3 separate regions of the Homo sapiens genome follow, and all the other regions are linked to region 3. Evidence: promoter capture Hi-C in human tissues and cell types (Jung and others, 2019). All regions are on one chromosome and are shown on one strand. Each heading gives the region's core, a stretch centred on a gene start or on the middle of the fragment in contact. The rest is flanking DNA. Distances are from core to core; before and after follow the strand shown.

The links. The method cuts DNA at HindIII sites, captures the fragments that hold promoters and counts their contacts. A contact is called where the count stands out against the background at its distance.
Region 1: a contact is called between the fragment with the promoter of GIPC3 here and a fragment that was not itself captured in region 3, in 2 of the 25 tissues and cell types used here (dorsolateral prefrontal cortex and pancreas).
Region 2: the fragment with the promoter of TLE6 here is called in contact with a fragment that was not itself captured in region 3 in 1 of the 25 tissues and cell types used here (dorsolateral prefrontal cortex).

What each region holds. Positions count from the first base shown.
Region 1 is chr19:3,583,385-3,587,087 of GRCh38, forward strand. GIPC3 (GIPC PDZ domain containing family member 3) reads left to right here and starts at 2,094. Exons shown (of 6, transcript NM_133261.3): 1 at 2,094-2,438; 2 at 3,111-3,296; 3 at 3,430-3,610. The coding sequence starts at 2,214. The HindIII fragment of the contact is 10,668 bases long and covers 1-3,703 here.
Region 2 is chr19:2,974,917-2,978,921 of GRCh38, forward strand. It overlaps TLE6 (TLE family member 6, subcortical maternal complex member), which reads left to right and starts at 2,648. Exons shown (of 17, transcript NM_001143986.2): 1 at 2,648-2,694; 2 at 3,282-3,368. The coding sequence starts at 3,318. RefSeq lists a silencer at 2,370-2,679. The HindIII fragment of the contact is 31,192 bases long and covers 717-4,005 here.
Region 3 is chr19:3,305,352-3,309,469 of GRCh38, forward strand. LOC105372244 (a long non-coding RNA gene) reads right to left here and starts at 1,551. Exons shown (of 3, transcript NR_187753.1): 1 at 1,498-1,551. The HindIII fragment of the contact is 7,399 bases long and covers 1-4,118 here.

The sequences.
Region 1 (3,703 bases), core at 844-3,343, 280 kb after region 3:
ACCTCGTCCAAACCCTCCTGCCACTTTCTTTTCTCTCCCCATGTTCAGTTTGTGAGGCTCCTCCTGGGCGGAGGCTGTGACTGGCTCTGCTGTAGGGCCCGCCACTGCAGGCAGGATGGCTGTTTATTGAGCCGACATTCCTGGGTAGGAATCTGATGGATACGTAGGTGTTTCTGACATTGCACTCCAGCGGATTTTTACCAACGCCTCCTGGTGCCTGGGGTCTCCTCCTTCATCTGTGACCTGGACATCCGTTCATTCCTCACCAAAGATCACTGGGCACCTGCTGTATGCCAGGCACTGTGCCCTGGACACTGGGCATGGGGACAGAGCAGGGGAACAGCCCCCACCCTCCTGGAGCTGACATTCCTCCAGTCCTGGGGACAAACAGGACAAAAGATGAAATGAAATATCAGCAGGGGGCTGGGGCTCAAGCCTGTAATCCCAACATTTTGGGAGGCTGAGGCGGGAGGATTCCTTGAGGTCAGGAGTTCGAGACCATCCTGGCCAACATGGTGAAACCCCCGTCTCTACTAAAAATACAAAAAAAATTAGCTGGGCATGGTGGCAGGTGCCTGTAATCCCAACTAATCAGGAGGCTGAGGCAGAAGAATCGCTTGAACCCGGGAGGCAGAGGTTGCAGTGAGCCGAGATCGTGCCACTGCACTCCAGCCTTGGCAAGAGAGAGAGACTCCGTCTCAAAAAATAAAATAAAATAAAATATCTGATATGTCAGATGGTAGCTTTAAATGCTGAAGAGAAGCTGGGCACAGTGGCTCACATCTGTAATCCTAGCACTTTGGGAGGCCAAGGCTGAAGGATGGCCTGAACCTCCTGGTCTTGAGTTTGAGACCAGCCTGGGCAACACAGTGAGATCCCAACTGTACAAAAAATTAATCATGTTTCTAAATTAAATTTTAAAAAACTGAATGCGGCCGGGTGCGGTGGTTCACGCCTGTAATCCCAGCACTTTGGGAGGCCAAGGCAGGTGGATCACCTGAGGTCAGGGGTTCGAGACAAGCCTGACCAACATGGTGAAACCCTGTCTCTACTAAAAAATACAAAAATTAGCCAGGCATGGTGGTGTGCGCCTATAATCCCAGCTACTAGGGGGGCTGAGGCAGGAGAATCGCTTGAACCCAGGAGGTGGAGGTTGCAGTGAGCCGAGATCACGCCATTGCACTCCAGCCTGGGCGACAGAGCTAGACTCCGTCTCCAAAATCAAACAAACAAACCAAAGGCTGGGCGTGGTGGCTCATGCCTGTAATCCCAGCTTTTTTGGAGGCTAAGGTGGGTGGATTCCTGAGGTCAGGAGTTCAAGACCATCCTGGCCAACATGGTGAAACCTCATCTCTATTAAAAATACAAAAAAATTAGCCGGGCATGGTGGTATATGCCTGTAATCCCAGCTACTGGGGAGGCCGAGGCATGAGAATTGCTTGAACCTGGTGGGCAGAGGTTGCAGTGAGCTGAGATCGTGCCACTGAACTCCAAACTGGGTGACAGAGCGAGACTCCAGCTCAAAATAAATAAATAAATAAAAATAATAAAATAAAATAAAACAATGACCTCGCCTAGCAGAGGGTGAGTGCTCCAGCACCCTCAGCTGTCCCTGTCCTTTTTTTTTTTTTTTTTTTTTTTTTTGCGACGGAGTCTCGCTTTGTTGCCCAGGCTGGAGTGTAATGGCGCCATCTCAGCTCACTGCCACCTCCGCCTCCCGGGTTCAAGAGATCTCAGCCTCCCGAGTAGCTGGGATTACAGGCGCCCGCCACCACGTCCGGCTGATTTTTGTATTTTTGGTAGAGACGGGGTTTCACCATGTTGGCCAGGCTAGTCTTGAACTCCTGACCTCAGGTCATCTGCCCGCTTCGGCCTCCCAAAGTGCTGGAATTACAGACGTGAGCCACCGCTCCAGGCCTGTCCCTGTCCTTATTTGTGGTCCCTGTTCTTCCAGGGTCCTGAGCTCAGGCCCCCCCGGACTGCGGGTATCCCCGGGGAGGGCACAGCTGGCCCTGGCAGGGCCCGGACACCTGGGGCCCGACCCACCCCTGCGCACCCCGCGGTGTCGCCTTCCCGGGAGGCTCGGGTTCCCAGATCCCCTTACCCGGGCGTCTCGGCTGTCGCGCCCTGGGCCGGGGGAGGGGAGGCTGCAGGAAGCGGCGGATCCGGCGGCGGCGGCGAGGGCCCGGGTGGGTGGCCGAACTTCTCCCGCCATGGAGGGAGCAGCGGCCCGGGAGGCCCGGGGGACCGAGACCCCGCGCGCGTCTGCGCCCCCGCCCGCGCCCTCGGAGCCCCCGGCCGCGCCCCGCGCCCGCCCGCGCCTCGTCTTCCGCACGCAGCTGGCGCACGGGAGCCCCACGGGCAAGATCGAGGGCTTCACCAACGTCCGCGAGCTGTACGCCAAGATCGCCGAAGCCTTCGGGATCGCGCCCACCGAGGTAAGGAGCCCGGACACCGGCGCCCAAGACCACCCGCCTGATGGGGTGAGGGGTAGGGAGCTTGGACCCTGGACGGGAGACCCCAGATCCCCGGATCCCAGACGTCGGGGTGGCCGCCTAATCGCCGGATCTCAGAGACCCAGCCCTCAGATCCCGGGGTGCCACACTCCCAGGGGCCCCCTTTGCACGCTCTGCGCAAAAGATGGGCAGGTCTTAGGACTAGCGGACCCCTAGATATTCCAGAAAATCCTCTGCGCAGACCTAGCTTGGAGCGGACCCCAGCCCTCGGGGAAGCGCCTCTGTGCTTCCTGGGCGTAGCTGGGGTCTGGGGTTCCAGATGGCCCCCTTAGGGATGGGAAGTTTGAGGCCGCCGTGGGGTTGGGGGGTTCCTGGGCGTTTTTCCAATCCGGGTTCGTTTGGTTTGCAGCCCCCAGGGGGCGCCAGCAGATTAAACCTGGAGGTCTGGGGGCTGGAGGTCCCGGGGTATGGAGAGGGGTCTCCACCTGCTGGAAGTCTCCTTCTCCCTCCTCTCTCTGTTCTGGGGGTCCCACGCCCTGCCCTTTCCCATGGGCTGGGATCCTGGTCGCTGGGGGCAGGGGCCTGCGCAGACAGGGTGGCTGCGTGGGGGGATGCATGCCCTGGCTAACTCTAGGCTCCTTCTCCCCCGGGAAGATTTTATTCTGCACCCTCAACAGCCACAAAGTGGACATGCAGAAGCTCCTGGGGGGTCAGATAGGCCTGGAGGACTTCATCTTTGCCCACGTGCGAGGCGAGACCAAGGAGGTGGAGGTCACTAAGACAGAGGATGCTCTGGGGCTGACCATCACGGACAACGGGGCTGGCTACGCCTTCATCAAGGTGCCCGGGAGGGGGTGGGCGGGTGGCTTCCTGGGGTCCAGCAACTGCCCCCCCCACTCTGGGTCGACGTGGGTTCTGCGGATTGGAGGCGGGTGGCTGGGGTTGCCCTGCCAGCGACGCTGGATCCCTGCAGAGAATCAAGGAAGGCAGTATCATCAACCGGATCGAGGCAGTGTGCGTGGGTGACAGCATCGAAGCCATCAACGACCACTCCATTGTGGGCTGCCGCCACTACGAGGTGGCCAAGATGCTCCGGGAGCTGCCCAAGTCCCAGCCCTTCACCCTGCGCCTGGTGCAGCCCAAGAGGGCCTTCGGTGAGGCGGGTGGGCTGGCGGGAGCTCTTCCCGAAGTGCGTTCTACGGATGCCTGGGGTGGAGGAGGGTCGGGGATGGGACGGGCTGGAAGGT
Region 2 (4,005 bases), core at 1,398-3,897, 330 kb before region 3:
CCTTCCTTCCTTCCTTCCCTCCCTCCCTCCCTTCTTTTTTTTTTTTTGAGATGGAGTTTCACTCTTGTTGCCCAGGCTAGAGTGCAATGGCACGATCCTGGCTGACTGCAACCTCCACCTCCCGGGTTCAAGCGATTCTCCTGCATCAGCCTCCCAAGTAGCTGGGATTACAGGCGTCTGCCACCACACTCAGCTGACCTTTGTATTTTTAGTAGAGATGGGGTTTTGCCATGTTGGCCAGGCTGGTCATGAACTCTTTTCTTCTTTTGAGGCAGAGTACTCTGTCGCCCAGGGTGGAGTGCAATGGCGACATCTTGGCTCATTGCAACCTCTGCCTCCCAGGTTCAAGTAGCTGGGATTACAGATGTGCATCACCGTGCCCGGCTGATTTTTGTATTTTTAGTAGAGGTAGGGTTTCAGCATGTTGGCCAGGCTGGTCTGGAACTCCTGACCTCAAGTGATCTCCTGCTTCGGCCTCTCAAAGTGCTGGAATTACAGGCGTGAGCCACCACGCCTGGCCTGATGTGGTGATTTTTTTTTTTTTTTTCTGAGACAGAGTCTTGCTGTGTCACCCTGGCTGAAGTGCAGTGGCACAATCTCGACTCACTGCAACCTCCGCCTCCCAGGTTCAAGTGATTCTTCTGCCTAAGCCTCCAGAGTAGCTGGGACTACAGGTGCCTATCACCATGCCTGGCTAATTTTTGTATTTTAGTAGAGCTGGGGTTTTCTTTTTTTTTTTTTTTTTTTGAGACAGAGTCTTGTTCTGTCGCCCAGTCTGGAGTGCAGTGGCGCAATCTTGGCTCACTGCAAGCTCCGCCTCCCGGGTTCACGCCATTCTCCCGCCTCAGCCTCCTCAGTAGCTGGGATTACAGGCACCCACCGCCACGCCCGGCTAATTTTTTTGTATTTTTTATTAGAGATGGGGTTTCACCGTGTTAGCCAGGATGGTCTCGATCTCCTGACCTCGTGATCCACCCGCCTCGGCCTCCCAAAGTTCTGGGATTACAGGTGTGACCCGGCCAAGCTGGGGTTTCACCATGTTGGCCAGGCTGGTCTCGAACCCCTGACCTCAGATGATCCACCCACCTCTGCCTCCCAAAGTGCTGGGATTACAGGCGTGCACCACAGCACCTGGCCCAACGTGGTGATTTCTAAGTAGGGAGCTGAGGGAGTAAGGAGCCAGCCGGTGGCTGTCTGAGAGAGACTGTCCCTGGCAGAGTGAACTGCTAATGCCAGTACCAGGTCCTGGGCCAAACAGAAAGAAACGGGCTCTCACTCCAGAACTGCAGCTTGACCACTATATATATAATATATATACTTTATATATATTATAGCTATATATTTTTTTGAGATGGAGTCTTGCTCTGTTGCTCAGACTGGAGTGCAGTGGCACGATCATAGCTCACTCCAGACTCAACCTCCTGGGCTTACGCCATCCTCCTGCCTCAGCCTCCCCAGTAGCTGAGACTACAGGTGCATGACCACCACACTTGGCTAATTTTTAAATTTTTTGTAGAGACGCGGTGTCACTGTGTTGCCCAGGCTGGTCTCCAACTCCTGGCCTCAAGCAATCCTCCCACCTCAGCCTTCCAAAATGCTGGGATCACAGGTGTGAGCCATGGTGACTTGGCTTCATATTTTGAATAGGCCAAAACAAAACTCCGAAATCCCCTTACTCCTATCCCCACGACCCCACACAGCAGGTTTCTCTCGCTCTGCAGCAACCCACTTACCTCTCGGAAATCATCCCAGGCCTGTTCGGAGTGCACGCAGCCCCGTTAGCCTCCCTGGCTGCTCCTGTAACCAGCCCAGCTCTGCCTGAGAGGTTCCGCTATTCCCTCCGTCTGGAATACCCACCACTCTCTCCCACCCCGCGCTTGCATCCGGCAATACTGTATCAGCCTCAGGGCCTCTGCTGTCCCGCTTTCTGCTCTCAGAGCCTTTGTCACTGGGCTGGAAGAGCAGTTGGGAAAATTCGGTGATAAATGCATAGCCCGGGGCTGGGACCATCAAGGGGACCCAGTAAGTTGGCTCCAGAAAGAGGACTTGAAGCTTCGTTTGCATTGCACGTTATTTAATATTGAGGAAAATGTAATTAGCCCGTATCTAAGAATTGGGGTGACAGCGCTAAAGATTGAACCCACCCACCTCCCACTCCTCACCTCCAGCCATAAGCCACTTCCGGACAAGGCTAAAAATGCGTAAAACAATGCAACTACTCGCCACCTATCCCTGCCCAAGTTCCAGCCTCTGAGCCTCAAGCCCCACGCCCTCCTAAATATCCCCGCCCCCGCTGGGACCCCAAATTGCCTATAGCTCTGCAAGTCCGCCCTTCCCGGCAGCGGGACCGAAAGGGTAAAGCAGAGGCTCCCGGCTCGCTGAGTGACAGCATGGCCGGCGGCCGGGGAGAGCCGACCAATCAGGGAGGGCGTACGCGACCCACGTGCGTAAACGGCCTCGCTATTGGCCGGCGCCGCCAGAGGCCTGCCCCCCCCGGAGCCCGAACCCACGTGCAGCTACTGCGCCTTCATTGATCTGCTTCGCGGTCCAGGTGGCGGCTGGGTGGGGCCTGGGCGGGACGGGGCGGGGACAAGGCGGGACGAGGCGGGGCCCGATGGGTCAAATGGCCCCCGGTGGGGGAAGGAGGAGTTTCCTCTTGGCCTGAACTTGGCTGACCTCCGCAGCTTCCGCCCGGTGAGGGACGTGAGTTGCCAGGCGTGTTCTAGGGGGCTGGGGGGACTCCAGGATTCCCGGCCGGGGAAGGGGCTGCAGGGGCGTGGAGGGGCAGGACTGAGGCAAGGAAGAAGCTGGGTGCTGCAGCAGGGATGGAGGTGGAGAGAGGTCGTTTCTTCTGTCTGATGAATTCCGCCTAATGCACCTGGCTAACTCCTAGTCATCCTTCAAAACCCCTTTCTAGTGATCTCCCTGCGCTTTAGGAAATTGTCTCAAAACTAAGGTTGAGCTTTGGCGACCTTCCCTGGGCTCCCCCGTCCCTGACTGCCCCCAGCAGGGAGTGTATGTGCACTATCCACCCCAGCCTCCTAGGGTGAGGCCTGGGAGGCAAGGCTCAGTTCTTTCTGGGTCCCCGCCCCCATGAATCTGGGCAGCTGGAGGCATTGATAAGTGAGGACAGGACCTAGGGAACGCATGGGAGAACCGCAGGATTGGGTCCCTGGAGACTTACCAAACTGGGAGGTGCGGGTGGGGTAACGGGTGCCTTGCTTCCCTGGCACTGCCTTATTTTCTGTCCCTCAAGACCTGCCGTCTCCTTGTTGTTTTAGACTCTGGCTAAAGTCTTGGAGGCTACTGCCTTGAAGATGACCTCTAGGGACCAGCCCAGACCCAAGGGCCCCCCGAAAAGCACTTCGGTGAGGAGGGCATGTGGTGGGATCAGCCCTCAAGGGAAACCCGGGCCCAATGTGGTTCTGCCCCTTTTCCACCTGTGACCTGGGCTGGCCCCGCCCAGGCCTCGCAGCTGAAGACAATACTGGTCGCTGCTACACTCAAGACAGGTGCCAAGGAGCCGTGTTTTTTAAAAAAAATTAAGTGTAGGCTGGACACTGTGGCTCACAACTGTAATCTCAACATTTTTGGAGGCCGAGGCAGGAGGACCACTTGAGCCCAGGAGTTTGAAACCAGCCTGGACAACGTAGTGAGACCCTGTCTCTGTAAAAAATAAAACTAGAAGAATCAGCTGGGCCTAGTGACGTGGGCCTGTAGTTGCAGCTACTTGGGAGGCTGAGGCAGAGGGTTGGCTTGAGCCCAAGGAGTTTGAGGCTGCAGTGAACTATGATGGTGCCACTGCACTCCATCCTTGGTGACAGTGAGATCCCATCTAAAAAAAAATGTAGCATCTAATCACATATGTGATAAAAACACAGGAACACATCATGTATTTGGTTGATGTTTTACAAGCAATCCCCGCTCCCTGCACTTTGCGTCCCAGAGATGACCATTTGTAAATTTAGGCTCTCAGGGCTGAGCAGACGTTTTTTTTTGTAAAGG
Region 3 (4,118 bases), core at 426-2,925:
ACTCTGTTCCCACCCTGGAGGTCGGAGATGCTGGGTTGGGATGGAGACACCCGTGACCTGCTAGGCCCAGGGCATGGCGTTAGCAAAGGTGGGGGTAGAAGTAGGAATTACTGGCCGGGCGCGGTGGCTCACGCCTGTAATCCCAGCACTTCGGGAGGCCGAGGTGAGTGGATCACCTGAGGACGGGAGTTCGAGACTAGCCAGACCAACATGGAGAAACCCCGTCTCTACTGAAAATACAAAATTAGTCGGGTGTGGTGGTGCATGCCTGTAATCCCAGCTACTAAGGAGGCTGAGGCCGGAGAATCGCTTGAACCTGGGAGGCGGAGGTTGCGGTGAGCCGAGATTGCGCCACTGCACTCCAGCCTGGGCGACAAGAGTGAAACGCCGTCTAAAAAAAAAAAAAAAAAAAAAAAAAAAAAGTAGGAATTACCTAGGTCCGAGTTAGAAAACAGAGAGCCCCTCAACTGTGGCCTCGAAACCACACAGAGGACTGAAGCAGGATGTGTGGGGGTAAAACTGAGGGCCAAATAGGAGCTGAGTCCCGACCAAGGGAGCTGGAGTTCCTCACCTCTGGGTCCTCAATATTTGCTGATTGACTTAAGACATGCATGCCCTTAAGCCTTGCATTCTCTCTCCAAGCTTCAGTTTCCTCATCTGTAAGACGGGGCTCATGAGATATATATATATATATGTGTGTGTGTGTGTGTGTGTGTATATATATATATACACATACATATGTGTGTATATACATATAATGTATATGTGTGTATATATGTATATATACGTGTGTATGTGTGTGTGTGTGTGTATACACATAATTTTTGGTTGGTTGTTTGAGACGGAGTCTCACTCTGTCACCCAGGCTGGAGTGCAGTGGCGCGATCTCAGTTCACTGCAACCTCCGCCTCCCAGGTTCAAGAGATTCTGCTGCCTCAGCCTCCCGAGTAGCTGGGATTACAGGTGCGCGCCACCACACCCGGCTAATTTTTGTATTTTTAATAGAGACAGGGTTTCACCATATTGGTCAGGCTGGTCTCGAATCCCTGACCTCTTGATCCGCCCGCCTCGGCCTTCCTGATCCAACCGCCTCGGCCTCCCAAAGTGCTGGGATTACAGGCGTGAGCCACCACGCCCGGCCTGGGCTCAGGTTATTATGCAAACATCCAGAACTGGGCAGATCAAGATGAATGATACCAATGATACTATCACATTATAGGCAAAATAGGACCTTCTCCCCGGTCAGAAAAGTGAACTCTCAGGCATCACTCCTACTGGAATCCAGAGTCAATAAACATTTATGAAGCACCTACTGGGTACTAGGAGCTGTTGTAGAAAGGTACTGGGGAGAAGGCAGGGAACGAAATGTACAAAAATTCTGACCACGTCCATAGTCCCTGGCCCCGCCCCACTACTTGCCCCAACCCTCACAGGAACAGTTTCCAGCCCCGCCCCCAGCCCCGCCTCCTCTCCACCCCCTCACTTTTCTGAACCTACCAGAGCGAGGTGAAGGGTGAGAGTAATCTACATATTCATGAGGGATCAGCCAATCCACAGCCTGAACTCGGATTTGTCTTCAGAGCCTAGCTGATTGTGACGTCAAGAGTGATGCATTACGTAGCCGGGCGCCGTGGCTCATGCCTGTAATCCCAGCACTTTGGGAAGCCGCGGAGGGCAGATCACCCGAGGTCAGGAGTTCAAGATCAGCCTGGCCAATATGGTGAAACCCCGTCTCTACTAAAAATACAAAAATTAGCCGGGTGTGGTGGCGAGTGCCTGTAATCCCAACTACTCAGGAGGCTGAGGCAGGAGGATCGCTTGAATCCAGAAGGCGGAGGTGGCAGTGAGTGGAGATCGTGCCACTGCACTCCAGCCTGGGCCACAGAGCCAGACTCCGTCTCAAAAAAAATAATAATAATAATAAAGTGATGCATTGCGTGATTTTTAAAGGTGCAGCAACCTCTCATGGTCTCAGTTTGCATATCCGTAAAGTACAGGTTGGGGCGTGCGGGACATAGAAACCAGCGCAGTACGATGACGCTGAAATCGCTTTGCCACCTTGGGTGAAATTCAGGGATACGTTTTGAGCGTTCACTACATGTCAGACACTTTACTCCAGCGGGGGCTCCGGAGTTCCTGCTTAGAATGGGAGCTTCAGCACCGGGGGTCGCGGACAGCTCCCGGCTCTGGTCGCAGGGGCTCCCATGCAGGATGACTGGGGACAAGGGTCTGAGCTTTCTCTGCCTGTCTGTCCTCCATCAAAGCCTCAAATGAACTCAGCCCTAATCTCTGACAGCTAAGGGGTTGCTAGTCAGGACAACACTCTGTCCTTGGTCCCCAATCCTGCTCCTCCCTCGTCGTCTGCATCTCAGCTGATGGCAGTTCCATTCTTTTTTTTTTTTTTTTTGAGACGGAGTCTCGCTCTGTCGCCCAGGCTAGAGTGCAGTGGCGCGATCTCGGCTCACTGCAAGCTCCGCCTCCCGGGTTCACACCATTCTCCTGCCTCAGCCTCCCGAGTAGCTGGGACTACAGGTGCCTGCCACCACGCCTGGCTAATTTTTTGTATTTTTAGTAGAGACGGGGTTTCACCGTGTTAGCCAGGATGGTCTCGATCTCCTGACCTCGTGATCCGCCTGCCTCGGCCGCCCAAAGTGCTGGGATTATAGGCGTGAGCCACCGCGCCCGGCCCGGCAGTTCCATTCTTCCGGGTGCTGGAGCCGAATATCAACGCTATCCTGGATCTTTTGTTTCTTGCTCAACTCCAATCTATCAGCAGGTCCTGTCGCCCCTGCCCTCACTATTCCATCCTCAAACGCTCACTTCTTCCTGTTCCTCTGCCTGGGTCCAGCCCCATCGTTGCCCACCTGGACCTGGCGCAGTTGCCTCTGCCTTGGTCCTAGGCTCCACCCTCTGCCACACAGTCTGTCCTCCCTGCAGCAGCCACCAGAGGGGGGCTGTGAGCACCCGAGTTAGGGCCTGTCCCTCCTCTGCCTACAGCACTCCAAGGCTCCCACCTTCCTCTGGGTCAAAGCCTCCCTGTGACCTATAAGGCTGGCAAGACCTTCCCTGTGTTAGCCAGGATGGTCTCGATCTCCTAACCTCGTGATCTGCCTGCCTCAGCCTCCCAAAGTGCTGGGATTACAGGCGTGAGCCACCACGCCCAGCCAATTTTCTGCATTTTGAATATATGTCTGGGTATGTCTCTTAGAGGATATTTATTCTGTTTGGTGTTTTCTGAGCCTCATGGATCTGTGAAAATTATTGGCTATTCTCTGAAAACAATCAGCTGCCCTAGTCTTCCTTCTCCTGTGGGATTCCAATTACACCTGTGTTAGATCACTTGCTCTTCACCTGCAGCTCTTGGATGCTCTTAACCTGTCTTTAACACCTCTCTAATTCTTGCTTTTCTTTTTTTACAAACAGAGCAGGCTTCAGGCTTGATGTTTGGTTAGACTATGATAAGGTTGAGGAGGTTTTTGTTGCATTTATCTTTGGACCTGCCCTCAATTCACGGCAGACTGTAGTGCGGGGGAGGCGTTATTCTTTTCTCTTTAAATATATCTAAGTCTTTTAAAACAAACAGTTTGATCCAAAGAAAAATCTTCACTAATACTTGGACACAGATAAAACGAGAAGGGTGGTCTGTGAGTGACAGCATTGAGAGGCTGCCCTAATCTGGCTTGTTGGTTTTTCAGCTAGGGAAACTGAGGCATGGAGTGGGTAAAGACTTGTAGACCAGGCCGGGTGTGGTGGCTCACACCTGTAATCCCAGCACTCTGGGAGGCCGAGGCAAGTGGATCACCTGAGGTCAGGAGTTTGAGACCAGCCTGGCCAACATGGCGAAACCCCATCTCTACTGAAAATACAAAATTAGCCGGGCGTGGCAGCAGGTGCCTGTAATCCCAGCTACTTGGGAGGCTGAGGCAGGAGAATTGTTTGAACCTGGGAGGTGGAGGGTGCGGTGAGCTGAGATCGCACCATTGCACTCCAGCCTAGGCATCAAGAGTGAAACTCCATCTAAAAAACAAAAAAAGACGTGTAGACCTGGGCCTTCTGTCCTTGGTACGGGGGGACAGGAACCGGGGTTGGGGGTGTGGTGCAGATGGAGGATCCTCACG